3 separate regions of the Homo sapiens genome follow, and regions 1 and 3 are each linked to region 2. Evidence: promoter capture Hi-C in 16 types of primary human blood cells and fetal thymus (Javierre and others, 2016). All regions are on one chromosome and are shown on one strand. Each heading gives the region's core, a stretch centred on a gene start or on the middle of the fragment in contact. The rest is flanking DNA. Distances are from core to core; before and after follow the strand shown.

Evidence for each region. The method cuts DNA at HindIII sites, captures the fragments that hold promoters and counts their contacts. A CHiCAGO score of 5 or more calls a contact.
Region 1: a fragment that was not itself captured here is called in contact with the fragment with the promoter of C1QTNF2 in region 2 in 1 of 17 cell types (neutrophils); the score reaches 6.1 in neutrophils.
Region 3: a fragment that was not itself captured here is called in contact with the fragment with the promoter of C1QTNF2 in region 2 in 2 of 17 cell types (neutrophils and M1 macrophages); the score reaches 13.2 in neutrophils.

The regions. Positions count from the first base shown.
Region 1 is chr5:160,138,816-160,142,112 of GRCh38, reverse strand. No RefSeq gene overlaps it. Among named protein-coding and RNA genes, the nearest start is that of PWWP2A, 21 kb to the right of the region's middle. The HindIII fragment of the contact is 6,590 bases long and covers 1-3,297 here.
Region 2 is chr5:160,369,219-160,372,345 of GRCh38, reverse strand. It overlaps C1QTNF2 (C1q and TNF related 2), which reads left to right and starts at 1,720. Exons shown (of 3, transcript NM_031908.6): 1 at 1,720-1,834. The HindIII fragment of the contact is 8,188 bases long and covers 380-3,127 here.
Region 3 is chr5:160,217,725-160,220,787 of GRCh38, reverse strand. It overlaps a transcript of FABP6 not described here. Among named protein-coding and RNA genes, the nearest start is that of FABP6-AS1, 9.2 kb to the right of the region's middle. The HindIII fragment of the contact is 5,834 bases long and covers 1-3,063 here.

The sequences.
Region 1 (3,297 bases), core at 208-2,707, 230 kb after region 2:
GCCACATCCCTGGGAAATCTCAAGTTGGTGGCTTTAAGTAGGGCCTGGTAATCTTCATTTTTCTCATGCTTAGCCAGGGATGAAAACAATAGCATTGTCATTTTGAACTCTGGCTCTACCACCCTCCATCTGGGTGACCTTGAGCAAGTTATTTAACCTCTTTGAGACTCAATTTCTTTCTTTTTTTTGAAACAGAGTCTCACTCTGTCACCGGGGCTGGAGTGCAGTGGTGCGATCTTGGCTCACTGCAACCTCCACCTCCCAGGTTCAAATGACTCTCCTGCCTCAGCCTCCCCAGTATCTGGGATGACAGGTGCCTGCCACTATACCCAGCTAATTTTCTGTATTTTTAGCAGAGACAGAGTTTCACCATGTTGTCCAGGCTGGTCTCGATCTCTTGACCTCGTGATCCACCCGCCTCGGCCTCCCAAAGTGCTGGGATTACAGGCGTGAGCCACTGTGCTCGGCCTGAGACTCAATTTCTTAACGTATAGAATGAAAATAATAATATCTACCCATAGGGCTATCATGAAGATGGAATGATATTAATATACAAGAAATGCTTATTAATGTAGTCCTTGCCATGTAGTAAACATCCCGAACATGGTAGTTATTTTTGTTAGCTTTTTTGTATAACAATAGAATATTCTTTTGGTAAGATTGGCAATGGGAATGATTTATTATAGAAATCATAGAATACTATGTATCCATAAAAAATGATGAGTTCATGTCCTTTGTAGGGACATGGATGAAGCTGGAAACCATCATTCTCAGCAAACTATCACAAGGACAAAAAACCAAACACCGCATGTTCTCACTCATAGGTGGGAATTGAACAATGAGAACACATGGACACAGGAAGGGGAATATCACACACCGGGGCCTGTTGTGGGGTGGGGGGAGCGGGGAGGGATAGCATTAGGAGATATACCTAATGTTAAATGACGAGTTAATGGGTGCAGCACACCAACATGGCACATGTATACATATGTAACAAACCTGCACATTGTGCACATGTACCCTAAAACTTAAAGTATAATTTAAAAAAATAATTAAAAAAAAAAAGAAATCCTGACCCACGGCAGACTGCCAAATGTTTCTTATATCACATGCCAGGTAGAACGGAGATATTTTCAAATTAAATTCTCTTCTCAGGAAGTTTCCTTTGAACTACTGAGATGGAATTTCACTGTTGTTGCCCAGGCTGGAATACAATGGCATGATCTTGGCTCACTGTAACCTCTGCCTCCCAGGTTCAAGCAATGCTCCTGCCTCAGCCTCCCCGAGTAGCTGGTATTACAGGTGCCCACCACCACATCTGTTCGTGTTCTTAGTAGAGACGAGGTTTCACCATGTTGGCCAGGCTGGTCTCGAACTCCTGATCTCAGGTGATCCACCCACCTCAGCCTCCCAAAGTGCTGGGATTACAGGTGTGAGTCACTGCGCCCGGCCTATTTTTGTCATTTATAATCTCTAGCATTTCCTGGGGGAGAGCATGGTCTCTCCTTTTTGTTTCAGTTGGAATTTGGCTCCATCACTTACTAGTTATGACATGACCCTGAAGAAACTAGATCACAGTTCTAAGCTATGGAGTCTGACAAATCAGGTTTGCAGCCTTGGCTCAGCCATTACTGGCTGTATTACCTTGGGCAAGTCACTTCTCTTTTCTTTCTTTTTTTATTTTTTTGTTACAGAGTCACTCTGTTGCCCAGGCTAGAGTGCAATGGCGCAATCTTGGCTCACTGCAACCTCCGCCTCCCAGGTTCAAGCGATTCTCCTGCCTCAGCCTTCTGAGTAGCTGGGATTACAGGCATCTGCCACCACGCCCTGCTAATTATTGTATTTTTAGTAGAGATGGGGTTTCCATGTTGGCCAGGCTGGTCTCGAACTCCTGACCTCAAGTGATCCACCCGCCTTGGCCTCCCAAAGTGCTGGGATTACAGGTGTGAGCCACTGCGCCCAGCCCATGCCTGACTTCTAATGCCTAAGAGGAAACATGCTCAGTACTAATCTTCTCCACCTCCAAATTCAAATCCTGAAGTTGCAGATTTGGAAGATGGGGAATTAGGGAAGCTATGATCATGCTGCTGCATTCCAGCCTGGGCAATAGAGTGAGACACTGTTTCAAAAAAAAGAAATCTGGCATGATTTCTCTGAGGGCTGAGCTTCTGAAAGTGAGCCAGGAGGTGGACAAGTCAGAAATCAACTGAGGTCGTGTGTAATGGCTCATGCCTGTAATCCCAACACTTTGGGAGACTGAGGCAGAAGGATTGCTTGAACCCAAGAATTTGAGAGCAGCCTGAGCAACATACTGAGACCCCATCTCTTCGTTTGTTTGTTTTTGAGACAGTCTCACTCTGTTGCCCAGGCTGGAGTGCAGTGGCGCAATCTCGGCTCACTGCAACCTCTGCCTCCCAGGTTCAAGGGATTCTCCTGCCTCAGCCTCCTGAGTAGCTGGGACTACAGGCATGCGCCACCACGACTGGCTAAATTTTTCTATTTTTAGTAGAGATAGGGTTTCACCATGTTGGTCAGGCTGGTCTCCAAGTCCTGACCTCAAATGATCCACCCACCTCGGCCTCCCAAAGTGCTGGGATCATAGGCGTGAGCCACCGTGCCCGGCTGTAAGACCCCATCTCTACAGAAAAAAATTAAAAAATTAGCCTAGGCAACAAAGCAAAACCTTGTTTCAGAATAAATAAATACATACATTTTAACTCAGACATGGTAAGCTCAGTCCTAAATCCTCTGTCCTGTGGGAAAGAGGAGGAAGTGGAGTGGTAACTCCACCGCAGACCCTGGTCTCCCGGGGCCTTGAGCACTGCCTGGAAGATGCAGATGAAGCCTTGGAGTGGCCCTAGTATATATAGCCGTGGCCTCCACTGGATATGGGGCACTGGAGTTTTTCTCTATGGGCTGGATTCAAGCACCAGAGCTTCCTGACATTTCCCATCAGAAGGGAAAATGAGAAAGGTGGGTAGATGGAAATCTCTCTTCCATATTCATGCAGAATGAAGGCAGATGTGTTGATTTCCTTTTAAGTACTTGTGTCACTTCAACTGTAATTACCTTTTCCCAAATTCAAGAACAGAGTGGGGTGAGGAGGGTGAGGAAAGGATATGAATCTATAATAAGATTCTAAAAGAATTAAAATCTCATCAAATTTTTACCCAAATGCAAACTGCAATCGCTCTTTGGGGCAATTATGGGGAGGAAGAATTTATAGAGAATAGGCCTTACGGCCGGGCGTGGTGGCTCATGCCTGTAATCCCAGCACTTTGGGAGGCCGAGGTGGGC
Region 2 (3,127 bases), core at 471-2,970:
TTTAACCAATGAGAGCATGCCAGTGATTTCAACCTCTGTCATGATGGAGCCACATGGATAACACACAGATATTACCACTCTACTCTAGGAGAGGGGCTTTCCTGAGCCCTTTAGATTCTGAATGGCCTCCAGGCATTCTAAGCAGTTTCCTCACCTTTCCAATTGCTGACACATCTGACCCAAGAGGCGGTGGATGGAAGTTTCCTTTCCAGCCATCTGTGTATCAACACCCTAAACTCCACTCCACATGTTATCATTCCTTCATTTTTTGAGCTCACACTTCCCCTACATTCAGACAAGTCTCAGTCATCTCTCAGGGTTCACCTGAAACATCAGTTTCCCAGGCCTTCCCCTGACTGCCCAGTTTATACTTTAAGCTTTTCTTTTCTATAACACTCATTTCACTTGTAACCACTTGTGTCATCCCCAGCTGGAGGACTCTAAGTTTCATGAGGGTAGGCATCAAGCCTATTTGTTTCCCTCTATGTCCCCAGCACCTTGCTTGGGGACTGACACACAATGGATGCTTATTAAATATTTGTTGAATGAATGTTTGTTAAGCCTACAAACTTTCTTTCTCAAATAGTATTTATGTGATATTAGTAATAATTCCCTACATAGTTCAATGGCTTACCAAACATCTTTATGAGTTAGTGTCCCAACTTTGGGGTAAAGGCAGTGCAGGTAATATTATTCTCCCATTTTTTTTAGAAAATAAAACACCATCTGTGAGATTATCTGACTTGATTAAGGTGGTGGATACAACATTAGAATTCAAATGCATATCTGTATTAAAATTCTGACTGTAAATTTTGTGTCACTTACCAGCTGTTAACCAGATGCTCTGGCTGTGCAGAGTGAAATATGGGTAGCTAGTGGAAGAGAGCAGTGGAAGGAACAGGGAGAAGCAAAAGCCAGGCCTTGGAGGATTTCCTTTCCTCCAGTGCCTGCTTGATTCCCAAATAGGATTGCTTTGCCTATCCTGGGAGCTGAGACCCTCCATAAGTCTCTCAATGACTTGAGGCTGGGCCAGAGTGAGTGAGACCAGTGAATCCTCACCTTCTGGGGAGAAGAGAAATGAGAGCTGGTACACAGGGGAACTCACCCACACTAGTGTGTATGTGCACACTCACATCCGGACAAAATCCACACCAAGGCATGCATAGAAATCAACACATAGAATGAGCCACTGCACAGTCATACACACATTTAAACATACACCCCACATACAGATGTCAAACCAACACACAGAATGAGCCCCTGCACAGTCACACACACATTTAAACATGCACCCCACATACAGATGTCTAGCCACTATCGTGTACATCCAACCACTGATGTGCCCTCCAGTTTTACACCAAGCTGCCATCTTGGACATGTGCATGCATGTGTACATACACCGAACAGCCCTGATGAAAATTTGGATAAACGCACGTACGCACACACACAACTAAACACATCCCTATGATTTATCATCACACTCAAGTACATGCACACCTTTGCAAACGCGTGGGAAACAATCACTCTGATCACTCTGGCGCACAAAACCTCCAAATACGCTAACAAGCTCTACAAACGCAGAGATGCATCGACACACCCGAGTTGTCATCAGCACTGCAAGTTTTTTCCAAACAGCTGCTAAAAAGAGAATGCTGCGCTGCGGGCCAGCCCACGTGACCGGGAGGAAGGCTCTCCCGCCCATGACGGGATGGGAAAACTATGCCTGGGGCCGACGCTCTGCCCGGCTGCTGCCGCTGAGGAAAGCCGGGACGCGGAGCCCCGCCGAGAGCTTCTTTGCTCCGGACGCCCCTGGACGTGGCGGGCAGCCGCGAGGGTGAGTGTCCCGCACCGCGGTCGGGCGGGGGCGGCAAGTGCGCGCGGGGAGGAGGAGGAGGAGGACTCGCACTGCTGCGGGCGGGGCGGGATGCGGAAGGTGGGAGAGCTGCCAGCGCGCCTTTATTGCGGGCTGGGCAGCTCCTGCATTCCTGCCTCTCGACTTCTACCTTCGTATTATAATACAAATTAACATGTTTTGAGTCCTTACTGTGTGCCAGGCTCTGTGCCCAGTGGTTTACCCGTTACAATAGTAACACCCGTAGCTCTGCCATTTATTGAGCGCCTACTTTGTGCCAAGTCCTGCTAGCACTTTACTTGTGCTCTTTCATTTTCATGACAACAGATTATCCCCGTCTACAAAAGAGGAACTGGGCTCAGAGACATTAATGACTTGGACAGGGTTGCACAGCTAGTAATTGATAAAAAAGGGACTTGAAGTCTGGTAAATCTGAGTCCAATACCCGAGCTAACAATCACAGTTAACATTTACTGAATGCATTATTTCACTTAACCTTCACATTTATTTAAATATATGATACAGACTGGCAAACTGAGCTCAAAAGGTATTGAACGGCAGGCAGAGATTTGTACTCAATGCCTCATGACTCTCTTCACTCTCCTTCCCCACCTAAACTACTTGTCTTAATATGCTTTGTCCTTATTTCTCCATCCCCACTGCTGCTGCCCCATTCTAGGACCTCGCTTTTCAGCTAAATAATTGCAGTGGGCCCTAATAGTCTCCCAGCCCAGGTCTCTCCTCTGACACCATGAGTCCCTTGCATTACCTCATTGTGATCCTCCTCTGCTCCTTGACCACAAAATTGCCCTGCTTGGAAGCCTGCAGAGGTCCCTTCCTTAGACTGGCCATCTCTCAGAGACCCTGTGTTTCCACCATGCTGAAGTAGCAGTAATAGAAAGACAATGTCTTACATAGGTCAATCCAAGGCTGGTGCTCAGTTAGCACTGTTAAAAATCTGTCCTCTCACATCCTTATTTTTGCCCTCCCTCTGCACCATTCTCTAATTTATTCTGTCATCTGGAGTAATTATATCAATTACTCCTGCTTTCAACTGCCCGATCCTCAAACTCTCCACACATTTCCAAGCATCACTACAGCCCTTCATTGTAACACATCAGATTCACTGCAGAATTTGTTTCCTCCCAAATGTCTGACTTCTCCCCATCTCCTAGCAGGGATACCACACTTACCAGTCTTCCAATCCTTAAACCTTAGGTTTACCTTTTGTTTTAAATGTTATAAAAGTAACGACGCTCATCACAAGAAATTCGA
Region 3 (3,063 bases), core at 484-2,983, 150 kb after region 2:
GAGACACAGTCCCATAAACAGGCAGTTACAACATGATGTGATCAAAGAAATAAAGACTGTAACATAAGGATATTTTTGGAACACAGAAACATTACCCGACCACTTCCTGAGTATGAGGGAAGGCTAATATGAGAAGAATTAACAAATAAGGCAAAGCCTTATTTATTATTAATAATAATTATTATTATTATTAGGCAGGGTCTCACTCTGTCACCCAGGGTGGAGTGCAGTGGCACAATCAGCCTCAGCCTCACAGGCTCAAGAGATCTTCCTGCCTCAGCCTCCCAAGTGGCAGGGACCTCAGGCATGCTCCACCACGCACGGCTAATTTTTTAACTTTTAGTAGAGACGAGGCCTCACTTGTTACCCAGGCTTGTCACAAACTCCTGGACTCAAGCGATCCTTCTGCCTTGGCCTCCCAAAGTCCTGGGATTACAGGTGTGAGCCATCACCTGGCCTCATTCATTATTATATGGGGAAAAAAATACCGATCTTCCAGAGTTTTAATGAGATTAAATGAAAGTACATAGCAAAAGTGCTTAGTACAGGATCTAGCATTTCACAGGTGATTGTTGAAGGATATCTACTGTTATTCTCACTCACTGGCAATTCGTCCAGCCTAGCTGCCTATTTTGAACTACTGTTTATATATTGCAGCATTAATTTAACCCTTCACAAAGTGAGTCTTTTATCTCCCAACTACATTGTGATCCCTTCCAGGCCTCAAGCTGCATTTCATTTTTCCTTCTGTATGTATTCCTGGTGGGTACTGGGATAGTGTTGATTTCACTTTATTTGTTCAGATCTATGTGGAATAGGCTGTAAGGCTGTGTTCATACGCTACTGGGGATGTAGGAAGGGAGGGCTTGTGAAAAATAGAAATCCCTGTGACCTGACCCCCCAAAATTCTGGTTTGGTAGGTCTGGGGTGGGGCCCTAGAATCTGCATTTTGACAAACTCCCCAGTGATTGTACTGCTCAGCAGCCTTGAGAAGCTCTAGGCCAGGGGATGTGGGCAAGAAGGACCAAGTGGCTTCTCCAGGCCCCCGCTTAACTCCCTTTCCCATTGATTTCCTTCTGCACGGTCAGAGCTGTTTTTTTCCTTAGTTGCTACTCTTCCAAGGTCAGTGTCCAAGGCAGGATGGGAGTGGTGGGGCTATGGGAAAGGATGACATTGGCACTCAGCTGACTGACTCAGCCATGCTCCCACCCCTTCCCTAGAGTCTAAGTGTACATCTGACCCTCCACCTTCCATCCACCCATGCCCGCCTCTTCCCCTCTTCTCCTGGGTTTACCTATTTGTTCAGACCCTCATTGAGAACCTCCCCGGAGGGGTGAATGAACTCAAACTGCCTCCATATCACAGTGAAGTTTTATGAGGCAATAGAACCAATAGAACAACTATACCCCAATAGAGATAAAGAAGAGCCCAAGGCTAATTCCCCTGGGCCACCCCAGCTTTCCACCTGAACTCTGGCCCCTGCCTCAGCCAGCTACCATTATTCTCAGAGTAATGCCTGGAGAAGGGGGTGGGAATACAGGTTCTTGAGTCCATGGGTGAGGAGGAGCCCTGGGCACCCTCCTATTCTCTCCATCCCCAGGACCTTACAGGTCTTGCATAGAGTAAGTGAACTATCAGAGTTATCAATTCCTTGATTAAACTCCCCTTCCTCTTTCCTCCACTAAAATCTGAAATACTAGTTGGCATCGATCCCTAGAATGTCAGAGCTAACTGGAGCCTCTGAGAACAATATTTTCCCATGATGATACTTCTAGTTTTACTCTCAAGAATCAAAGACCAGGAGTTTGAGATCAGTGTGGCCTACATAGTAAGACCCTGGCTCTAAAAAAATTAAAAAACAATTAGCTAGGCATGGTGGCTTGCGCCTGTAGTCCTAGCTACTGAGGAGGCTGAGGTGGGAGGATCACTTGAGTCCAGGAGTTTGAGGCTACAGTGAGCTATGATTGTGCCACTACAATCCAGCCTGGGTGACAGAATGAGACCCCAACTCATAAAAAAAAAAAAAAGGCCAGGCGCAGTGGCTCATGCCCGTAATCCCAACACTTTGGGAGGCTGAGGTGGGAGGATCACCTGAAGTCAAGAGTTCTAGACCACCCTAACCAACATGGCGAAACCCCGTCTCTACTAAAAATACAAAAATTAGCCAGGCATGGTGGCGGGTGCCTGTAATCCCAGCTACTCAGGAGGCTGAGGCAGGAGAACTGCTTGTACTCGGGAGGCAGAGGTTGCAGTGAGCTGAGATCGCGCCTTTGCACTCCAGCCTAGGAGACAGAGTGAGACTCCATCTCAAAAAAAAAAAAAAAAAGTCAAAGACTAAGATAAGAAAATCCAGTTGGCGCTTTGTTTATCCACAATGAGACACGAAAGAGACAGAGACTCTAGGCACAGGCTGCCTAGGTTTGAATCCCAGCTCTGTCACTTACTGGTTCTGTGGCCTTGGGCACCTTATTTATTTTTTTGTGTCTCAGTTTTCTCATCTGCAAAATCTGGATAATAATGGTGCCTATCTGAAGGGGATGTTACTAATGTTAAGTGAGTTCAGCCAGGGGTGGTGGCTGCCACCTGTAGTCTCAGTGACTCAGGAGGCCAGAGGCCAGGAATTGGAGACCAGCCTGGGCAACACAGCAAGAACTTGTCCCTAAAAAAAACAAACAGAAAACCTAAGCTAGGCATGGTGGCCTGTGTCCGTAGTCCCCCTGCTACTCGAGGGGCTAAAAGAAGGATCGTTTGAGCCCAGGAGTTCAAGGCTGCAGTGAGCTATGTTTGTGCCACTGCACTACCTCCTGGGTGACAGAGCAAGACTTGACTCTAAAATAAATAAATAGGCCAGGCACAGAGGCTCATGCCTGTAATCCCTCCTCTTTGGGAGCCTGAGGTGGGAGATTTGCTTGAGCCCAGGAGTTTGAGATGAGCCTGGGCAACATAGGGAGACCCCATCTCTACAAAAAATAAAATAAAGTAAATCAACTGGGCATGGTGGCATGTGTCTGTAGTCCCAGCTAGTCAGGAGACTGAGGTGGGAAGATCACTTGAGCGTAGGAG